3 separate regions of the Homo sapiens genome follow, and regions 2 and 3 are each linked to region 1. Evidence: promoter capture Hi-C in human tissues and cell types (Jung and others, 2019). All regions are on one chromosome and are shown on one strand. The core of a region is centred on a gene start or on the middle of the fragment in contact, and the rest is flanking DNA. Distances in the headings are between cores, read along the strand shown. Region 1 holds the start of C12orf43 (chromosome 12 open reading frame 43). Region 2 overlaps SPPL3 (signal peptide peptidase like 3). Region 3 overlaps SPPL3 (signal peptide peptidase like 3).

What was found. The method cuts DNA at HindIII sites, captures the fragments that hold promoters and counts their contacts. A contact is called where the count stands out against the background at its distance.
Region 2: a fragment that was not itself captured here is called in contact with the fragment with the promoter of C12orf43 in region 1 in 1 of the 25 tissues and cell types used here (mesenchymal stem cells).
Region 3: a fragment that was not itself captured here is called in contact with the fragment with the promoter of C12orf43 in region 1 in 1 of the 25 tissues and cell types used here (aorta).

What each region holds. Positions count from the first base shown.
Region 1 is chr12:121,013,477-121,018,366 of GRCh38, forward strand. It overlaps C12orf43 (chromosome 12 open reading frame 43), which reads right to left and starts at 3,011. Exons shown (of 6, transcript NM_022895.3): 1 at 2,854-3,011. The coding sequence starts at 2,998. It also overlaps a transcript of OASL not described here. RefSeq lists enhancers at 2,190-2,705, 2,677-3,186 and a silencer at 2,914-3,107. The HindIII fragment of the contact is 5,444 bases long and covers 1-4,714 here.
Region 2 is chr12:120,881,330-120,885,926 of GRCh38, forward strand. All of the region lies in intron 1 of SPPL3 (signal peptide peptidase like 3), which reads right to left. Among named protein-coding and RNA genes, the nearest start is that of SPPL3, 21 kb to the right of the region's middle. The HindIII fragment of the contact is 4,130 bases long and covers 1-4,101 here.
Region 3 is chr12:120,821,029-120,825,861 of GRCh38, forward strand. All of the region lies in intron 1 of SPPL3 (signal peptide peptidase like 3), which reads right to left. Among named protein-coding and RNA genes, the nearest start is that of SPPL3, 81 kb to the right of the region's middle. RefSeq lists an enhancer at 1,860-1,929. The HindIII fragment of the contact is 3,166 bases long and covers 1,540-4,705 here.

The sequences.
Region 1 (4,890 bases), core at 1,761-4,260:
GGACGCTGTTTCCATACCCATCCCCTTCCTGGATTTGTAAGCTACTTGAATACGTGGTCTGCCTCTTTTTACCTCTGTATCCCCAGATCCTGCCATAGTGTCTTGGTTTGAATTAATTGTCAGAAAAATAAGTCAAAGTAGATGCTACCCTAAAATTAAAGTGGTTTGAGTGACGAGTTCATCACTGGATTTAAGAGCTGTCTCTAGAGGTTACATAAATAAAATAGTGACCTATATTTCCACAGTCATGGACCAAAGGGTGGGAGTTTTGACCACAATAGACACTTGTCCATGGCAGAGTGGCACAGCAGCAATGAAGAGCATGGACTTGGGAGTCAGGTAGGCCTGGGTTTACGCCTGGTTCTGCCACTCACAAATTGGACAACCTTGGCCAAGTTATTTTACCATTATGAGAATCAGTTTTCTGTAAAATGGGGCTAATACACCCTCTTGTGGCATTGCTGGGAAGATGAAAACAGACAACAAATACAAAGTGTTTAGAACAGGGGCAAAAAGAAAATTCTCAACTCCTGGTGGCTATTACTAGACGCACTCAAGAATGTAATCTAGGCTGGGTGTGGTGGCTCATGCCTGTAATCTCAGCACTTTGGGAGGCCAAGGTGGGCGGATCACCTGAGGTCATAAGTTCGAGACCAGCCTGGCCAACACGGTGAAACCCTGTCTCTAATAAAAATATAAAAAAAAATTAGCTGGGCCTGGTGGTGGGCACCTGTAATCCCAGCTACTTAGGAGGCTGAGGCAGGAGAATTGCTTGAGCTTGGGAGGCGGAGGTTGCAGGGAGCCAAGATCGCGCCATTGCACTCCAGCCTTGGTAACAGAGCGAGACTGCGTCTCAAAAAGAAAAAAAGAGACCAGGCGCGGTGGCTCACACCTGTAATCCCAGCACTTTGGAAGGCCGAGGCAGGTGGATTGCCTGAGGTCTGGAGTTTGAGACCAGCCTGGCCAACACGGTGAAACCCTGTCTGTACTAAAAATACAAAAAATTAGCTGGGCGTGGTGGCAGGCGCCTGTAATCCCAGCTACTAGGGAGGCTGAGGCAGGAGAATCACTTGAACCCAGGAGGCAGAGGTTGCAGTGAGCTGAGATCGTGCCATTGCACTGCAGCCTGGGCAACAAGAGTGAAACTCCATCTCAAAAAAAAAAAATGCAAAAAAAAAAAAAAAACCCCAAAAAACAAACAAACAAACAAAAAAAACTAGAAGCCGAGCACAGTGGCTCACACCTGTAATCTCAGCACTTTGAAGGTTGAGAAGGGAGGATCACTTGAGCCCAGGAGTTCGAGACCAGCCTGGGCAACATGGCAAAACCCCATCTCTACAAAAAATACAAAAAGTAGCTGGGACTATACATCTGTAGTCTCAGCTACTTGGGAGGCTGAGGTGGGAGGATCATCTGAGTAGGGGGAGGTCGAGGTTGCAGTGAGCCATGATTGTGTCAGCCTCGGTAACAGACTGAGTCCTAGTTTTGAAAAAAAAAAGAGCGAGAATTAGGCAGGAGGAGGAAAGCAGTCCATGTGGAAAGACCAACCACATATTTGCCACCATGTATTGGGCCTTTAAGATGTGCCAAGCACTGTAGATTGCATTATCTCAGTTACTTCTCAACCTTATGGGGTGGGTACTATCACTACCCGCACTGTACAGATGAGGAAATTTAGGTACAGTGAGATTTAAGTACTTTGCTCAAGTTCCCACCGCTAATGAGATGGAAAGGCAGATCTGTAAATAGAACTTGCAGAGAAAACTGTGGTTATGGTACTAGGGGGTGAGAGGGGCAGACTATGGTCTGGAAGCTACCTACAGGAAGTGCAGTATGGCAGGAGGGAAGGAAGGGAGAGGAAGGCAATGGATCACCAAAGGGCTTGTAAGTCCTTTTAAACAAATCCAGCGGTTCTTAACCTTGCTTTGCCATAGCCTTCTCTAACAGCCTGGTGAAGCCCGGTTCTCTTCTCAGAGCAATGTTTTAAATGCATGAAATGCAACATACAGGATTACAAAGAAAACCAATGATACCGAAATTTAATTATCATGATAGTAAACAACCAAACTTGTGATGTATGTGCTTCTTACATCTTAGATATAGAGATGGGTCTAAAAATTAGAGTGGCACATTTTAAATCAGGGATGAGTGTAAATGACTTTTTTCCCCAATATCTTTTTATCAATAAAATGATATATTGATATCTGTATCTGCAAAGATTGTAATGAGATATGAAAATCTGTGACTTCTGTTGGGATAAAGTAACGGCATTGCCAGAACTACTGTGGCTTAGTGCTTGCAAGACGGAAAGAGATGCTAAAATTCAGTCAGAGATGAATAGAAAGCAAAGATGCAACATGTTTTCATTCCAAATTCAAGAACCCTTGGGTTCTATCCATGATTAGGCCCCTTGATGTTGCGGGGCTCTGTATTTATTCCCAGGGCACTAGGGAGTCACGGTCAGAGTGATGTGCTGGGCACTGCTCTTGGCAACAACCTCCAGGGTGGGAGAATGTGTTGGAGGTGGGGAAAGGCTGGGTGCGAGAATACCGGGAGGGGGCTGTTGCAGTTATCTCGAAGAGACGGCAGCCTTCCCAGTGTGGGGCAGTGAGGATAGACCCAAGGAGGCAGAATCAAAAGACATTTGGGTACCTCAGCTTCCCCGACTGGAATAATGAAATACCCTCCCTACTGCACCTGCCCATGCTTTCAATCTGCACTACACCCAGTCCCTGGAGGTCTCTCGGGGAAGGAAGCCGAGTCCCAGTGACTCTCTCCTCACCATCCATCCTCTCAGGCTCCAGGGGAAGATCCCACGCCCCTCAGCCAGTCTCCCCAAACATAGTACCCTACCGGCTCTTGGCTTCCCTGCCACGTGCGGGCGTTGCTCCAAGCCCCAAGCCGGCATTGCCGCCTCGCGGCACCGCTCCAGCTCCTCCGCATCGCTACTGCTGTTACTACTTTCCGAATCGCTCACTGTGCCACTGGGCGCCGCCATCTTGAACCACCGCAAAGGATTGTGGAGAACACCGCCGTTATCAAGCCTCCTTCATGACGTCACGTGAGAGGAGAGGCGCGAGGCATTGTGGGGATTGTAGTTCCAAGACTTGGACCGCCATTGGCCATGAACTGTACTGGGTTGGGGATACCAGGTGGGAATGGGGAGGTGGGCGGTTCTCAAAGGCAAGAGCTAGAAGGGCCTAAGAGATTAACTTCTCCAATCATTTCTTGATGACAGATCTCCAGAGGGGATGGGAATCTCCTAAGGAGTTAATGACAGACCCAGGATTAGTTCCCAGGTTTTGATTCCATGTCATTTATTCTAGTAATTTCCCAGTCCAGCTGGGCCTAAGAAACACCTTAGAGAGCTGGTTAAACTGCAGACTTTTGGGTCTCACAGAAAATACTAACAGAATCAGAATCTCTGATAGGTGGAATCCAGGAATCTGTATTTCCTTTAATAGCCTAGGGCCTTACTACTTAAGAGTGTAGTCCATGAGCCAGCAGCATTGGTAACACCTGGGAGCTCGTTAGAAATGCAGAATCCAGGCTGGGCACGGTGGCTCACGCCTGTAATCCCAACACTTTGGGGGGCTGAGGCAGGCAGATCACAAGGTCAGGAGTTCGAGACCAGCCTGGCCAACATAGTGAAACCCCATCTCTACTAAAAATACAAAAATTAGCTGGGCATGGTGGCACGCACCTGTAGTCCCAGCTACTCAGGAGGCTGAGGCAGGAAAATCACTTGAACCTGGGAGGTGGAGGTTGAGGTGAGCCAAGATCGTGCCACTGCACTCCAGCCTGGGCAACAGACTGAGACTCTGTCTCGAAAAAAAAAAAAGAGAAATGCAGAATCCTGTCCGGGCACGGTGGCTCACATCTGTAATCCCAACACTTTGTGAGGCCGAGGCGGGCAGATCATGAGGTCAGGAGTTCGAGACTAGCCTGACCAACATGGTGAAACCCCATCTCTACTAAAAATACAAAAATTAGCCAGGCAATACTGACTCCCAGGACCCATCCAAGACCAAAAAATTAGAATCTCTGTGGTTAAAATACCTCACAGTGAAGGATGAACAAAATCACTTTACTTTTGTGTGTGGAATGCTGTTTCATGTTTTATCTTTGAAGACAGGTATGTCAAAACTTTACTAAAATAAACTCTCTGGCCTTGAGCTTTTTCTATTTCAAAGAAGAGGAAGGTGACTGATATGGTCTGAATGTGTTCCTCCAAAATTCATATGTTAAAATTGACACCATAAAATAAATAACAGAGAGACTGACTCTCCAAAATAAAGCGTTTATTCCAGAATTGCAAGGAATTGCAATTTGAGATATGCATGCTATAGTGGACTATAGGCACATTAAAAGAGGTTGTGGCAACGAGAAAAGACAAAGTCCACATAAGCTTCTTTAAAACAAGTACCGTTGATCACAGGAGCCTGTTGCAGGAGTTGGCTTTAGCTTATTGTGGAGACACCCACTGTTAGGCAAATATTCTTATGCAAGTGGTTTATCTATAATACTGCGGATTTTAGGAACTTCTTGAGATAATTTTTGTGACAGGCATTTGTTAGGGTTTGACATAAGTGACTCCATTTTGATACTGATAATTTCCAAAAAGTCCTTACTCCCAAGGTGATGGTATTAGGAGGTGGGACCTCTGGGAAGTAATTAGTGAAAGGGTCTTGTGTTGGTTCGAACCCCAAGAGCGTGGCCAACAGACAACATGAGGCAGTGTGTGTGCAGGTGGGCTGAGGCTTAAAATGGCGTCAGCACCAAATGAGGACGGGGCAGGGGTTTTGTAGTCTCCTGTAAACAGGAAGTTTCTCAGTCTGTTGTAACCGCTACATTGTACCCGGATGACGTCTCTCTCGGTCTTCAGGGGGT
Region 2 (4,597 bases), core at 787-3,286, 130 kb before region 1:
GTGTTGGTGTGTGCCTGTAATCCCAGCTACTTGGGAGGCTGAGGCAGGAGAATCACTTGAACCAGGAGGCAGAGGTTGCAGTGAGCCAAGACAGCGCCACAGAACTCCAGCCTGGGCAAAAGAGTGAGACTGCCTCAAAAAAAAAAAAAAAAAAAGAGAAGAGAAGAGAAGGAAAAAAATTAAATGTTGAATTGCCATACGAGATTGAGCAATCCCACTTCTAGGTTTATATCCAAAAGAACTGAAAGCAGGGTCTCGAACAGATATTTGTACACCAATATTCATTGTATTACTCATAGTAACTAAAAGGTGGAAGCAACTACTGCCCATCAACAAATGAACAGATACACAAAATGTGGTCTTACCCATACAGTCAAGTATTATCCAGCCTTTAAAAGGAAGAAAATTCTGACACACGCTAAATATAGATGAAGCTCGGGGGGCATTACTCTAAGTGAAAAAGCCAATAACAAAAAAAAAAAGAAACAAAATATTGTTAGATTCCATTTATATGAGGTACCTAGCATAGTCAAATTCACAGAGACAGAAAGGAGAACAAAGGTTGCCAGGGTGTGGGGAGAGAGGGGAATGAGGAGTTAAAAGTTTAATGGGTACAGTAGTTCCGATTAAACTTATCTATGGTTTCACCTTCCATGCAGTCAACCGTGGTCTGAAAATATTAAATGGAAATTTCCAGAAAAAAGTCGTAAGTTTTAAAGTGTGGACCATTCTGAGTAGTATGATGAAGTCTCATGCCATCCTGCTCCCTCCTGCCTGGGATGTCACTCATCCCTCTGTCTACCATCTTCATGCTATATACATACACTACCCCTACCCACCAGTTTGACATTTGATAACCATCTTGGTTATCAGATTGAATAAACAGTATATACAGGGTTCAGTACTATCGGCAGTTTCAAGGTATCCACTGGGAGTCTTGGGATGTGGATAAGAGGGGACTACTGTATACAGTGTCAATCTGGGAAGATTAAAAAGTTCTGGAAATGGATGGTGGTGAAGGTTGCACAATAATGTGCATGTACTTAATGCCACTGAGTTCAGTGACACTTAAAATGGTCAATTTTATGCTATGTGTATTTTACTGCAATATAACAGGGGTACTGCATAGGACTTTGTATACACATGTGTTTTCATGCACACATTTCTAGAAAGATAGAAAGAAAACTGGTTATAAGCTTTCTTGAGACAGGGCAACTGGAAGATCAGGAATAAAAGTGATATAATAAAAACTAGAGAGATTGAATACAGTGGTCTCCTATGTATCCACAAAAACTGATTATATATTAAATGGTATCAAAAGACATTCAAGATATATTTAATTTTAAAAAGCATATAACAAAACACTATTTACCATTTTAACATTACTTTCATAAACACACATACAAAAACAATCTCCACCTGGGCACAGTGGCTTATATCTGTAAACCCAGTGCTGTGGGAAGCCAAGGCGAAAGATTGCTTGAGGCTAGGAGTTCAAGGTTACAGTTAACTATGATGGCACCACTGCACTCCAGCCTGGGCAACAGAGCTAGACCCTGGCTTTTTAAAACCAATCACAGAGGTAATGCTAGAGATCGTTGAGGAAAGCAGGGACTATTTTATCAACATATAGTTCTGGGACAATTGGATTCCTAACTAATCCATACACAGATATATAAAACTTAATTCTAGAGGCCGGGCGTGGTGGCTCACAACTGTAATCCCAGCACTTTGGGAGGCTGAGGCAGGCAGATCACGAGGTCAGGAGATCAAGACCATCCTGGCTAACACGGCGAAACCCCGTCTCTACTAAAAATACAAAAAAATTAGCCAGGCGTGGTGGCGGGCACCTGTAATCCCAGCTATTCAGGAAGCTGAGGCAGGAGAATGGCATGAACCTGGCAGGCAGAGCTTGCAGTGAGCCGAGATCGCACCACTGCACTCCAGCCTGGGCGACAGAGCAAGACTCCCGTCTCAAAAAACAAACAAACAAACAAAAAACAAACTTAATTCTAGATGGATTAAAAACTTCTATGTGAAAGGCAAAGCTTGAACTCTAACCTATTCCTATTTAGAGGAACATATAGGAGACTATCTTCAAGACTTCAGGCTAGAGAAGAATTTCTTAGGACACAAAAAGCACTCACCATAAAAGATAATGGTAGATTCTACTCCCAGGTATATAAACCCTAAGAAAACTCTGAAACATAAATACCAGGAAAATATACAAGAATGTTCACAAGACTCCTCTGAAATAGCCTCAAACTGGAAACTAAATATTTATCAGAACAGATAAATAATGTGATTATATATTCACAGGATGGAACATTATACAGCACTGGAAAGGAATGCAACAACTGGGACAAATCTTAGAAAAAATATTGACTGAAAAAAACAAATTATAAAAGACAATATATGTCATCTTTATAAACTTATTTAAAAAAGCAAAACAAAACATGTTGTACAGTAAAACATTAAAATGTAGACGTAAGCCGGGCGTGGTGGCTCATGCCTGTAATACCAACACTTTGGGAGGCCAAGGTGGGTGGATCACCTGAGGTTGGGAGTTCAAGACCAGCCTGATCAACATGGAGAAACCCTGTCTCTATTAAAAATACAAAATTAGCCGGGCGTGGTGGCGCATGCCTCTAATCCCAGCTACTCAGGAGGCTGAGGCAGGCGAATCGCTTGAACCCAGGAGGCGGAGGTTGTGGTGAGCTGAGATCACGCTACTGCACTCCAGCGTGGGCAACAACAGCGAAACTATGTCTCAAAAAAAAAAAAAAAAAAATGCAGATGTAAATCTAGTTTTTTTAAAAAGCAAAGGGATGGTAAACAAAATTCACGACAGTGGTTACACCTAAACGGGGACAGGGGACAGAGGCATGAGGAAGGACAAAGGAGAGTACAAAGGGGGCTTCCAGAACATTGGTAATCCTATAGTTTCTTTAACTGGTGAAGTTCATGAGCGTTCATTATGCTACACATACAAATCATATATTCTTCTGTAGACATTAAATATCACATAAAAATGAAAGCACAGTATAAACCTGTTCCTGCTTTTGTGTAAAAAATGATCTACAGTTCCTATATGTAATGCCCAAAAGGGTAACATGAAATGTTACCATAAATTTTCTAAGTAAGTTAAATATTAGGTAATTAGGATTTTTCTTTTTTTACTTCTATTTGGGATTTCTGGGTTTCAACAACTTGTATAATTTAAAAAAAAAAAAAAACCAACTGTCACAATATATGGATTTTTTTTAAACCTGAAAGATATGCAACAAATTTAATGAAAGATCTCTCTGTGTTGGTAGAATTGTGGGTAGTTTTTCTATTCTTTTTGTGTTTATCTACACTTTTCAATATTTTCACCAATAAAATATGGTATTACAGTTTCATAATTCCTTATCTGACACCCTTATGGCTGGAGATGTTTCAAAATTATGGCTAGAGTTTTTTTGGGTTTTTTTTTTGGGTTTTTTTTTTTTTTTGGCTTTCAGAAAGGTAACAATGGTGTGTGAAGTGGGTGACAAGTCACACCTATTCAATAAATAGATACTAGAAATAACTTCAGTTAAGGTCTTGTTTTGTTACCAAAGAGGTCTAAACCAGATTTTATCCCCTAAAGGAATGGCATTATTTAGTGTAAGTAAGGCTTCCAATTCCGCCCCTACTGGTCCAACTAATTTGGAGCTTAATCACTGCAGACTGCACTCAGTTGGGAACAAACAAAAAAACCCTTATATTAATACTTTGTAATACCAACAAATCAAAGCATTTCAAACTCAACTAAAAGACATTTCTTTCTTAGTAAGGCTAAGGCTTTCAGACACATTTCAAAAATGAAGCTAATGAACAAGTGTCAAAGTATAAAATATTTGGAAATTATCAAAATAATAATGTATACAAAAACTCAACAGAACCACCAAATAAACTGATTAAAAAGATAGTACCACTTACGGTGTTCTTTAATTCCATAATTGTGCACGGGACCTACAACACATAAGTATTTCACATGGCCTTCAAATTCAAACAAATCAGTGAACTCACAAATGGGCCCTGGGTCCATATTATCACAAATGCCAGGGTATAGCATGTAAATTAAGTCATGATCGTTGTTCTCTTGGTCAGAATACCATTTATGGACTCCAACTCAAAAGCATGTGAGTACCACTTAGAATAACTACATGTCCTTAAGGCATCTAATAGTCAGTAATAATGCAATGGTCAAATCCTGTTAAAGTATTTGTATCTAAACATGCAAGTGCCCATAAAAAGTTGTTTTTTTAATCCTCTGTCACTGGAGCACTGATCAGCTATCCCTATCTTCAACCATCCTTGAGGCAATGACCTACAACTATGGTTACTAAGGGATCACAACTCAATTGCCTCCAGGAGCTAGGTAAACAGCATAAATGAGTGAGGTAGAGATTCAGTGTACAGTAAACAGAAAGTGATGGGGACTCAGCCAAATTAGAAAATGTAAGCTGTGAGTAAAGTCATTCAAACATTAAAACTTTTTTTTTTTTTTTTTTTTTTGAGACAGAGTTTTGCTCTTGTTGCCCAGGCTGGAGTGCAATGGCGCGATTTCAGC
Region 3 (4,833 bases), core at 1,873-4,372, 190 kb before region 1:
TAATACAATGAAAAAATGATTACTTCCATCAGAGATACAAAATCTGCTGACTGAGCAAATTCATATGAAAGAAAGGTATTAGTCTTCAAGGCAGTAAAGATGATCTGGAGTAATTTTGTTTTCAAATACATCTTATTGCCTAGGATAGATAAGAAAGGATTTATTGCCGGGGGCGGGGAGAGGGATTGAAACAGAAAGAAGACCCCACATTAAAGGCTTCGATGGCAATATGCTTCAACTTTTTCCTATGAATTATCCTCTAAGACAGGTCCTCACATCATAGTTTCCAAAGCATGCGCTTTTGATTGTGACTTGCGCACACAACCAGCAACACACTGTGGTTCCTGTGTTCAACACTGCAGCCGGAAACAGCCCTGGGCTGGCTGCAGCAAACATAAGGCAAGGGAAAGAAATTAGGCAACTGGTTTCCTCGGACAAAGCCAATAGGTACAAGCTGGATAAAGCAGTTTTGCATTTTTATTTGGCCAAGGGACTTATTTACAGAAAAAAAAAATTATAATACAGCTTTTGAAGGTATCTTTGTATCATGATCCAAGACTGCTTTAGAACTTGTACAAAATAAATCTCCTTAAAAACTTGCAAAAATCTATGTTAACATGCTGGTTGAAATTACTATTTCATAAGAAAAATGCTACTGGATATCTAAATACCCTCTCAGGATATGTGCTCATAAAACTTACTAAAGCCTAGGTATTTGCCCCAAATAACTGAAAGCAGGGACTCAAACATACTTGTACACCAATTTTCACAATGGCTGGGCCGTGAATAATGGGTTGGGTTGGGTGGAAGTAACCCAAGTGTCTATCGGTGAATGAATGGATAAATAAATTGTGGTACAGCCATCCAATCAAATATTATTCATCCTTAAAAAAGAAGAAAATTCTGATACATGCTACAACATAAATCAACTTCAAAAACATGATGCTATGTGAAATAAACCAGAAAAAAGAGACAAATATTGTTATGACTCAACTTATATGACAGACCTAGATTAGGCAAATTCATAGAAAAAGAAAGCAGAATAGCGGATACCAGGACTGGAGAGAAAGGGAATGGGGAGTTTTTGTTTGATGCATACAGAGTTTCTGTTTGGGATGATGAAAAAGGTCTGGAAATGAATAGTGGTGACTGTTGCACAAAACATAAGTGAACGTACTTAATGTTACTGAACTGTACACTTAGAAAAAGTTCAATGGTAAATTTCAAATTGTATGTTATGTATATTTTACAATAACAACTTTTATAAAACTTAAGGAAAATTTTAAAAACTGCTCTTAACCTCTAAAAGAACTGGTTTTTACTGTATCTGTTTCATTAAAAGATTATTCCCTGCCATTTAATGCTGATAATAGTTTTAGAAATGATTCTAGAAACGAAGTCTTAAAAGCATCCCTACAATTCCAAAATCTAACTTCAAGAAGAAAATTTCCAGTGACTTTTAAAAATGAATGCTACAGATTGACATTTAGTTATTTCCTGGGGGCTAACCTCTCCTAGTGACAAATTCTGTGGACAAGCAAACAGGAGCCTAAGAGTTTAAATCACAGTTCATCCCTTACTTCTATCAGGACAAACTAGGGTTTCTGTCTGGGATGATGAAAAAATTGAAGAAGGAAAGTCTCTTGAGCCCCAGAGCAAGGAGGGATTAGACAGACTGAATTTCAGTAGCAAATCTCCAATGACCCTGGGGGCACACTTCTACCTGCATATACCACGGTCACCTCAAATTCAACACATCTAAAAATCAAACCAAATCTCTCCATCATCTTGCAGTATCTAATGTCTGTTACAAGCTCCAACTAGAATAAATACCTCTGGTCACTGTTCTGTCCTATCTTATGTATCACCACATGCATGAGGACTCTGCTAGGTACTAGCACTCCATGATAAAGACTCAGCCCCTACCACCCACCAAGAATTGCCTAACAGGGAGACAAAAAGAAGTAAACAGGTTGCCAAATTAAACAGACAGGTGTAGGAACTCAGCATGGAGGCCTATGTGACAGTGCGACCTGCTGGGAGTTCACAAAGTAGTCAAGCAGTTCAGTTGGGCTAGAGAGGAGAGAGCAAGAGTGAGTGATCATGCGTGCAAGAGACAAAAAGCAAGAGCTAGAGCATATTCCCACAAAGGTGTCTGTGAGAGACGGAGAGTGTGTGTGTGGGGGTGGGGGGTGGGGGGGCGGCGGCGGTGGCGGGGAGGACAGAGAACAAAAGGAAGAAAGGCCAGTTCACATAGGGCTACCAAAGCTAGGGATCTGGCTGTATTTGCCGTCTTCACTGGTATCTCCTTGTCACACTGTGCCTTCTATCCCCAGCACTCCATGGAATTTGCTCTCCCCAAGATCATCAACAATCTTGTTGTTACTTAATCTAGTAACACTTCAGTCAATATCTTACTTGATATCCCCGCTCCCCTTGCAGGATCTGACAACAGTAGCCACTTCCTTTTCTTGAAACAATTTTATCCCAGCTCCCACGACATCCTACTGGATTTCTTCCCTGCTCTCTGGCTCCGTATTTTCTCCTTCTCCTCTGCCCATCAGGGCTCTGTCATCAGTTCTCTTTACTTCTTACTCCACATCTCATCTCTGGGTGATACTGTCTACTCTCATGCCTTTGGTTATCATCTATATAGGCTGATGATTCCCTTTTCCAAGTTGTAACAGCAATCTTTTACTGAGTCATGTGCCCAGCACTGTCCTAAGAGCTTCCCATTATGATCCCCATTTTGTACAGATGAAAAAACAGAAACATAGTGGGGTGAATTAACCTATTTGTTTTACTATAGTCATTGTGTTTTATATAATTCACTCTATCACAAAGACATTTTTTTTTTTTTGAGACGGAGTCTCACTCTGTCGCCCAGGCTGGAGTGCAGTGGCGCAATCTCAGCTCACTGCAAGCTCCGCCTCCCGGGTTCACACCATTCTCCTGCCTCAGCCTCCCAAGTAGCTGGGACTACAGGCGCCCGCCACCAAGCCCAGCTAATTTTTTCTATTTTTAGTAGAGATGGGGTTTCACGGTGTTAGCCAGGATGGTCTCGATCTCCTGACCTTGTGATTTGCCCGCCTCAGCCTCCCAAAGTGCTAGGATTATAGGCGTGAGCCACTGCACCCAGCCCACAAAGAAATTTAAAAGAATGGCACGAAGAATTGTTAGGAAGAAGCAAGCTGAAGACCTACGTATCACATAAAACCACTTTTATTAAAAATGGGACTATTTCACATTTCTGTATTATTTGAGTTTTTAAAATAACACTAAAATTTTTTTTTAATGGAACACAGGATTCTGGTGGAAACGTTAGCAAAAAAGACAAAAAAGTGTTAGTGATGTCTGATTTGGCTATATTTTTCACTTATACTAAATACTAAAAGCTTGTGTTCTTCAGTCGGATATAGAATTTAACAAGTAATACTACAGAGTAAGTTCTATAGCAGAATTTAATTTTCAAAGAGCCCAATTTAAATACAATGGTTTTCTTAAACTTTTATTTTTTCTGAGACAAGGTCTCACTCTGTCACCCAGGCCGGAGTGTAGTGGCATGATCACGGCTCACTGCAGCCTTGACCTCCTTGGGCTCAGGTGATCCTCTCATGTCAGCCTCCTAAGTAGCTGGGGAGACAGGCGCATGCCACCACATCAGGCTAATTTTTTTTGTTTGCAATTTTTGTAGAGATGGGGTTTTGCCATATTACCCAAGCTGGTCTTGAACTCCTAGACTCAAGTGATCCTTCAGCATTGGCCTCCCAACTTGCTGGGATTACAAGCGTGAAGCTGCCTGGCCTTCTTAAACTTTTGACACTGTTTTTCACACAGAAAAGAGTAACAAACTTCCATGCCCTATTCATTTGAAAAGACAATTTAAAAACACTTAAGTAGCTACTGTAACAACATATTTCTAGAAAGCTTAACTGCAGATGGAATGGAACAAATGTTAAAGGGTAAACATGCCCCCCACCCCCAGTCCCTTTCTCATAGTGTGCCCTTCCTTATATGACACTACCTTAAGTCTACTGGATAGTCATTATATTTATAACACAAATGGAATCTTAATTACTAACACCTTAAACTCATTTAAAAAAAAAGGACAGATCCAAACTTACATAATGTCAGTTTGATCCAGAACAATGTTCACAAATTTTAATTCATTAAATCCAAAATAATAAAGTTTTACTAAATTAATAATTGAAAAACTATATAATCCAGCCAATTATTTAGTTTGAAAAAACAAGCCTGACACACTAAAAAGGAAATTATGGCAAAAGCAGCCCCAATTCAGTTAACTGAATTTGTTATCAAACAGACCTGATGTATTCAGAGAAAAATTTTTCTGTGAGTTAGGAAACACTAAAGAGCATCTGTTTATTGAGCACCTGAAAGGAGTTTGGCTTGGTAGAGAGAAAAGAGAGTGGAGGTGAGAAAACAAATCCCAAAAGAATAAAGGTCATGATCTTAACTCTCTAGTAACAGGGCACATGTACACAGGAATATCAACAGGAGCAAATATCGCTTGTCTTACGGAAGAATGGAATTCCAGAGAGACTCACTGCAAGATCAGCTTCTGTTTACAGAGGGGTTAAATTATGGTGTACTTGAAGTCAAGGTTTGTTAGCAGGATTTTAGCTGCTGGAGTTTTAACGTCACCTGAAAACATTGCTTTTATTCAACTAGTAGAGTAAAAATCATAAGAGTCTATAATATTTTTGGAAAATCAGTCAGGCAGAAATATTCAGTGTAGATAAATTGGGCAGAAGAGACTAGAATCAAGGAGACCAAGTAAGATTCTTATGATAATCTAAGCATGAGGTGATC